Linked DNA regions of Homo sapiens: region 1 is linked to region 2. The links are contacts of gene promoters, found by promoter capture Hi-C in human tissues and cell types (Jung and others, 2019). All regions are on one chromosome and are shown on one strand. The core of a region is centred on a gene start or on the middle of the fragment in contact, and the rest is flanking DNA. Distances in the headings are between cores, read along the strand shown.

The links. Contacts are between HindIII fragments. The study calls those that stand out against the background at their distance.
Region 1: a fragment that was not itself captured here is called in contact with the fragment with the promoter of PRADC1 in region 2 in 1 of the 25 tissues and cell types used here (aorta).

The regions. Positions count from the first base shown.
Region 1 is chr2:71,319,142-71,322,025 of GRCh38, reverse strand. No RefSeq gene overlaps it. Among named protein-coding and RNA genes, the nearest start is that of ZNF638, 11 kb to the left of the region's middle. The HindIII fragment of the contact is 5,244 bases long and covers 1-2,884 here.
Region 2 is chr2:73,231,745-73,235,002 of GRCh38, reverse strand. It overlaps PRADC1 (protease associated domain containing 1), which reads left to right and starts at 1,764. Exons shown (of 5, transcript NM_032319.3): 1 at 1,764-1,909. The coding sequence starts at 1,843. CCT7 (chaperonin containing TCP1 subunit 7) reads right to left here and starts at 695. Exons shown (of 12, transcript NM_006429.4): 1 at 619-695. The coding sequence starts at 624. RefSeq lists enhancers at 808-877, 998-1,047, 689-1,220 and a silencer at 1,508-1,717. The HindIII fragment of the contact is 5,775 bases long and covers 1-3,258 here.

The DNA.
Region 1 (2,884 bases), core at 263-2,762, 1.9 Mb after region 2:
CTCAGCAGAAACCCTACAACCTAGAAGTGATTGGGGCCCTGTCTTCAGCCTCCTCAAACAAAACAATTATCAGCCAATAGGCCAGGCGTGATGGCTCACGCCTGTAATCCCAGCACTTTGGGAGGCCTAGGTGGGCAGATCACAAGGTTAGGAGTTTGAGACCAGCCTGGCCAACATGGTGAAACCCCGTTTCTACTAAAAATACAAAAATTAGCTGGTCATGGTGGCACATGTCTGTGATCCCAGCTACTCAGGAGGCTGATGCAGGAGAATTGCTTGAACCCGGGAGGCAGAGGTTGCAGTGAGCTGACATCACAGCATTGCATTCCAGCCTGAGCAGCAGAGTGAGACTCCATCTCGAAAAAAAAAAAAAAAAAATTATCAGCCAAGAATTTTGTACCCAGCAAAACTAAGCTTCATAAGTGAAGGAAAGATAAAGTCTTTTTCACACAAACAAATGCTGAGACAATTGACAACTACCAAACCAGCACTACAAGAACTGCTAAAAGGAGCTCTAAATCTTGAAACAAATCCTGGAAACACATCAAAACAGAACCTCTTTATACCATAAATCTCACAGGACCTATAAAACAAACAAACAAAAAAACCCAAGGTCTACAGACAACAAATGAAACAATTAATGAACAGAATGGTACCTCACATCTCGATACTAACGTTGCATGTAAATGGCCTAAATGCTCCACTTAAAAAATACAGAACTGCAGAATAGATAAGAATTTACCAACCAACTATCTGCTGCCTTCAAGAGACACACCAAAAGCAAGCAGGAGTAGATATTCTTGTATCAGATAAAACAAACTTTAAAGCAACAGCAGTTTAAAAAGACAAAGAGGAACATTATATAATGATAAAAGGCTTTGTCTAACAGGAAAATATTATAATCCTAAACATATGCACCTAACACTGGAGCTCCCAAATTTATAAAACAATTACTAATAGACCTAAGAAATGAGATAGACAGCAACACAATAATAGTGGGAGACTTCAGTACTCCACTGACAGCATTAGACACGTCATCAAGATAAAGTCAACAAAGAAACAATTTAAACTATACCCTGGAACAAATGAACTTAACAGATATACAGAACATTGTACCCAACAACCGCAGAATACACATTCTATTAAACAGCACATGGAACATTCTCCAAGATAGACCATATGACAAGCCACAAAATGGGCCTCAATAAATTCAAGAAAATTGAAATTATATCAAGCACTCTCTCAGACCACAGTGGAATAAAACTGGAAATCAACTCCAAAAAGAACCTTCAAAATCATGCAAATGCATGGAAATTAAATAACCTGCTCCTGAATGATCACTGGGTCAAAAATGAAATCAAGATGGAAATTTAAAAATTCTTTGAACTGAACAACAATACTGACACAACCTATTAAAACCTCTGGGATACAGCAAAGGTGGTGCTAAGAAAAAAGTTCATAGCCCTAAATGCCTACAACAAAAAGTCTGAAAGAGCACCAACAGACAATATAAGGTCACATCTCAAGGAACTAAAGAAACAAGAACAAATCAAACCCAAACCCAGCAGAAGAAAGGAAATAACCAAGATCAGAGCAGAACTAAATGTAATTGAAACAAAAAAATACAAAAGATAAATGAAGCAAAAAGCTGGTTCTTTGAAAAGATAAACAAAATTGATAGACCATTAGCATGATTAACCAAAAAAAAAAAAAAGAGAGAAAATCCAAATAAGCTCAGTTAGAAATGAAAACGGGAGATATCACAACTGACACCACAGAAACACAAAAGATCATTCAAGGCTACTATAAACACCTTTACGTGCATAAACTTGAAAACCTAGAGGAGATGAATACATTTCTGGAAAGATACAACCTTTCTAGCCTAAATCAGGAAGAATTAGATACTCTGAACAGACCAATAACAAGCAGCAAGACTGAAATGGTAATAAAAAAAATTACCAACAACAAAAAGTCCAGGACCAGAAGGATTCACAGCAGCATTCTAACAGACATTCAAAGAAGAATTGGTACCAATGCTATTGACACTATTCCACAAGATAGAGAAAGAGGGAACCCTCCCTAAATCATTCTATGAAGCCAGTATCACCCTAATACCAAAACCAGGAAAGGACATAACCAAAAAAGAAAACCACAGACCAATATCCCTGATGAACATAGATGCTAAAATTCTTCACAAAATACTAGCTAACTGAATCCAGCAACATATCAAAAAGATAATCCACCATGATCAGGTGGCTTTCATACCAGGAATGCAGGGATGGTTTAACATATGCAAGTCAATAAATATGATATATACCACATAAACAGAATCAAAAACAGAAATCACATAATCATCTCAATAGATACAGAAAAAGCACTCGACAATATCCAGCATCCTTTCATGATTAAAACTCTCAGCAAAATCAGCATACAAGGGACATATCTCAATGTAATAAAAGCCATCTATGACAAACCCACAGCCAACATAATACGGAATGGGGAAAAGTTGAAAGCACTCCCTCCAAGAACTGGAACAAAACAAGGATGCCCACTCTCACCACTCCTCTTCAATATAGTACTGGAAGTCCTAGCCAGAGCAATCAGACAGGAGAAAGAAATAAAGGGCACCCAAATAAGGAAAGAGGAAGTCAAACTGTCACTGTTTGCTGATGATATGATTGTTTACCTAGAAAACCCTAGAGACTCCTCCAGAAAGCTCCTAGAACTGATAAAAGAAAGTTTTTCAACAAAGTTTCCAGATACAAAATTAATGTACGCAAATCAGTAGCCCTTCTATACACCAACAGCAACCGAGCTGAGAATCAAATCAAGAACTCAACCTCTTTTACAATAGCTGCAAAAAAAAAAAAAAAAAAAAAAAACC
Region 2 (3,258 bases), core at 515-3,014:
CCCAGCAACCACCAGGGCCTGGTACATTCAGTAGGCACTAAAGACGCGTTTATTTAATGACTGAGCGAATGAGTGAATGAATTAAAAGTACTAGGGAAGGCGTCTGCTTCTCTGCACGCTGCGGTGAGGGTCAGCGAGTGAACATAGTGAGTCCCTAGGCGGGCACAATATGAGGTCCCCAATGTGCCTGTGCCGGTTCCAAGAAGCACACGTCTTTACAGCCCGCAAATCTCAGAGCAGCCCCAGCTTCCAAGTCTAGCTGCCGACCGCGTAACCACGGCCGACCTGCACTCGTTTCACGCAAGTCCCGATCATGCGGGGCTAAAAAAGAGGTCCCCGACGTGGGTTCGCGGGCCCGAAGCACCCTGGGACTTGTAGTCCCCAACCGGCCAGCCCAGAGACTCCTCTAAAGCCCCACGCAGCCCTCGCCAACGGCTCCAGCGCCGTGCTCGGGCCGAGCCAGGCCGCGGCTGGCTGGGGTCGCCCCTAAGCTGGGGATCTGGGCGAGGACAGAGGCGGCAAGCAAAAGAGGGTCCTACAGAGCAAGCCCAGGCCGAGCGGCGCCGGCCACCGGCCAGATGGCAGCTGATGGCGACGGATGCGCGAGACGCCACTCACCATCATTTTGGAAGCTTATTCAGCGGCCCGCCACTCTCCCCTCTTCTCCGAGACCGGGCCGCCCAGCAACCCACAATGCCTCGCGCAATAGAAATACCCAGAAGCTTGGGCCGGGAGAGGAAGAGAACGGACCACTTCCGCTACTCTATGGTTCGTTACCACCGACTCGGTGCGGCTAGAAGGACCTGAGGCTGGGCTTCGGGGACTCTCTAGTGAGGGGCGTTCATTAAAGAGGGGTCGCCGCATTTCGGTCGTGCTTCTTAGAGCACGGAGGGTCTTTGCTCGGCCCGCATCACCTACTAACTTAATTCCACCCTCCTCCATCCCCGGACGCCAGACCAAGGAATGCAATAAAGGCAAAAGTGTGGGACGCAAAGTGTGGGATAGGCTGGTGCCAAAGCACTTTACGTGAGCGATCTCATTTAATCCTCACAACCCTATTGCGTTGGTCCTATTAAGGCCATTTTACTGATGACAGAAAGGAGGCTGAGAGGTCAAGGTGTCCAGTGTCACAGTTACATAGTCAGTGTCAACGGGACGAGCGTGGGAAGCTGCCCCCAATGCCCGTTTTCTGGCTTTGCACTGGCCAGAGGCTCCTCGTGGATGGCGTGCGCCAGGCCGCGGCCCCAGCGCCTATCCACGGTGAGCGCGCAAGCGTTGGTGGCACTGGGCGGAAGACCCCCTGGCGCAAGACGAGTGCCTTCCCGTGAAGGCGTGGGGAGGAGGGAAGCGCAGCTGGGAGGAGGGAAGCGCAGCTGGGAGAAGGCTAATCGTCGTCAATCGAGGCGGCCTTGGAGTGGACAGGACCGAGACCGCAAGGGTTAACGGCCTCGACTATCGACAGCTGAAGCAAGTCCGGCTACGGGCACACCTCCAGTGCTTGTCCTCCCTGGCCCGCCCACCGCCAGCGAGGACCCGGAGAGTATGCTGGGGCGGGGCTGAGGCGAAGGCCGGTTGTAGCTGTTAAGAGTTTAAGCCAATCAGCCCCCGGCTCCACTTCTCTCGACCAATAGGAAGTAGGCTAAGGCGCAGAGGCGGAAAGTGTGGCTACATGAGCAGGCGTCAGAGCCAATCAGCCTTGAGCCTCGTTCCCGTCGTCCAGCCCGCGGCGAGAGCGGGTATGTGGGCGGGAGGCCGGAGCAGCTGTCAGGCTGAAGTCCTGCGAGCGACGCGCGGCGGGGCGGCGAGAGGAAACGCGGCGCCGGGCCGGGCCCGGCCCTGGAGATGGTCCCCGGCGCCGCGGGCTGGTGTTGTCTCGTGCTCTGGCTCCCCGCGTGCGTCGCGGCCCACGGTGAGCGGCAACGGGTGGGACTGCGTTGCAGGGCGGGGCTGGCCGTCCAGCTTGCGCGCGTCTCGGGTTGGGGGCCAAGGGTCACCTTGGGGACCCTGCGAGTTCAGAGCAGGACAGGTCTGGGAGCGGGCGGCCGGAATAAGTGGGTGGTGGTCCAAGGACATAAAGTGGGCGCAGCCTGAGGCTGAAGCTCTGACTCCTCACCTTCCCACGACAAAGCAGATCTCCCCACTCGCCCCTCCCCGCCCACTAGCGCCGACCCAGGTGACTTAGGGTGCGACCAGAAGGGACAGCTAAGGAAGGATACTACAGGCTGGAGATATGTATGTGAGCATTCACATGTACACAGGAGCACACATTCCTACACGTGGGCACACACGCACAAACCGTTTACACCTACACAAGCACATAAATGTATACATCTATGCACATAAGTGAGCACATACGTATACCCACAACTTACACAAATAAGCACACACAAAGGCAAGCAAGGGTTGGGGAGGAGGGAGTGAGTTTGACGCTAGTCCAGGAAGGCTTTCTGGGGGTGTATTTGTATCCGAGAGGGAGTCCCCACTCCCAGGACTGTATAGCCCAGTGCCAAGCCATGGGAGCTCTAACTGATGGCTGTGATTTGGGCAGTAAACAAAGACAGCTAAAGCCTTAATGCCATCCTTGGTACACAGTAGTGACTTGGTAGTTTGTTGATAGACTAACAGACTTGTGACAGCAGTTTTCTTTTTTTCTTTTTTTTTTTTTTGAGACGGAGTCTTGCTCTGTCGCCCAGGTTGCAGTGCAGTGGCCCGATCTCGGCTCACTGCAAGCTCCGCCTCCCGGGTTCACGCCATTCTCCTGCCTCAGCCTCCCAAGTAGCTGGGACTACAGGCGCCCACCACCACGCCCGGCTAATTTTTTTGTATTTTTAGTAGAGACGGGGGTTTCACCGTGTTAGCCAGGATGGTCTCGATCTCCTGACCTCGTGATCTGCCCGCCTCGGCCTCCCAAAGTGCTGGGATTACAGGCGTGAGCCACCGCGCCCGCCCATGACAGCAGTTTTTATCTTTCAACATTCCGCAGTCTCTCTGGGTTAAGGAAACCAGGGACTCAAGTCCAGGTACAACATTAAACTTTGGTGCTGAGGAGAAGATCCCATGCCCCAGAAAAATCTAGTGGTCTGGAAATTCTCTTCATCGGTGCTGTGGAGCTAGATATAGTTGTTCACCCATTCAGGAAAGTTTATAGGGCTATCCCTATATTGTAGCCACTGTGCAAGACACTGGTGACTCTTCACTGAATGAAGTTACAAAGTGGAAGAGGCAGATATTTAAAAATTATGAATCCAGGGCAGGTGC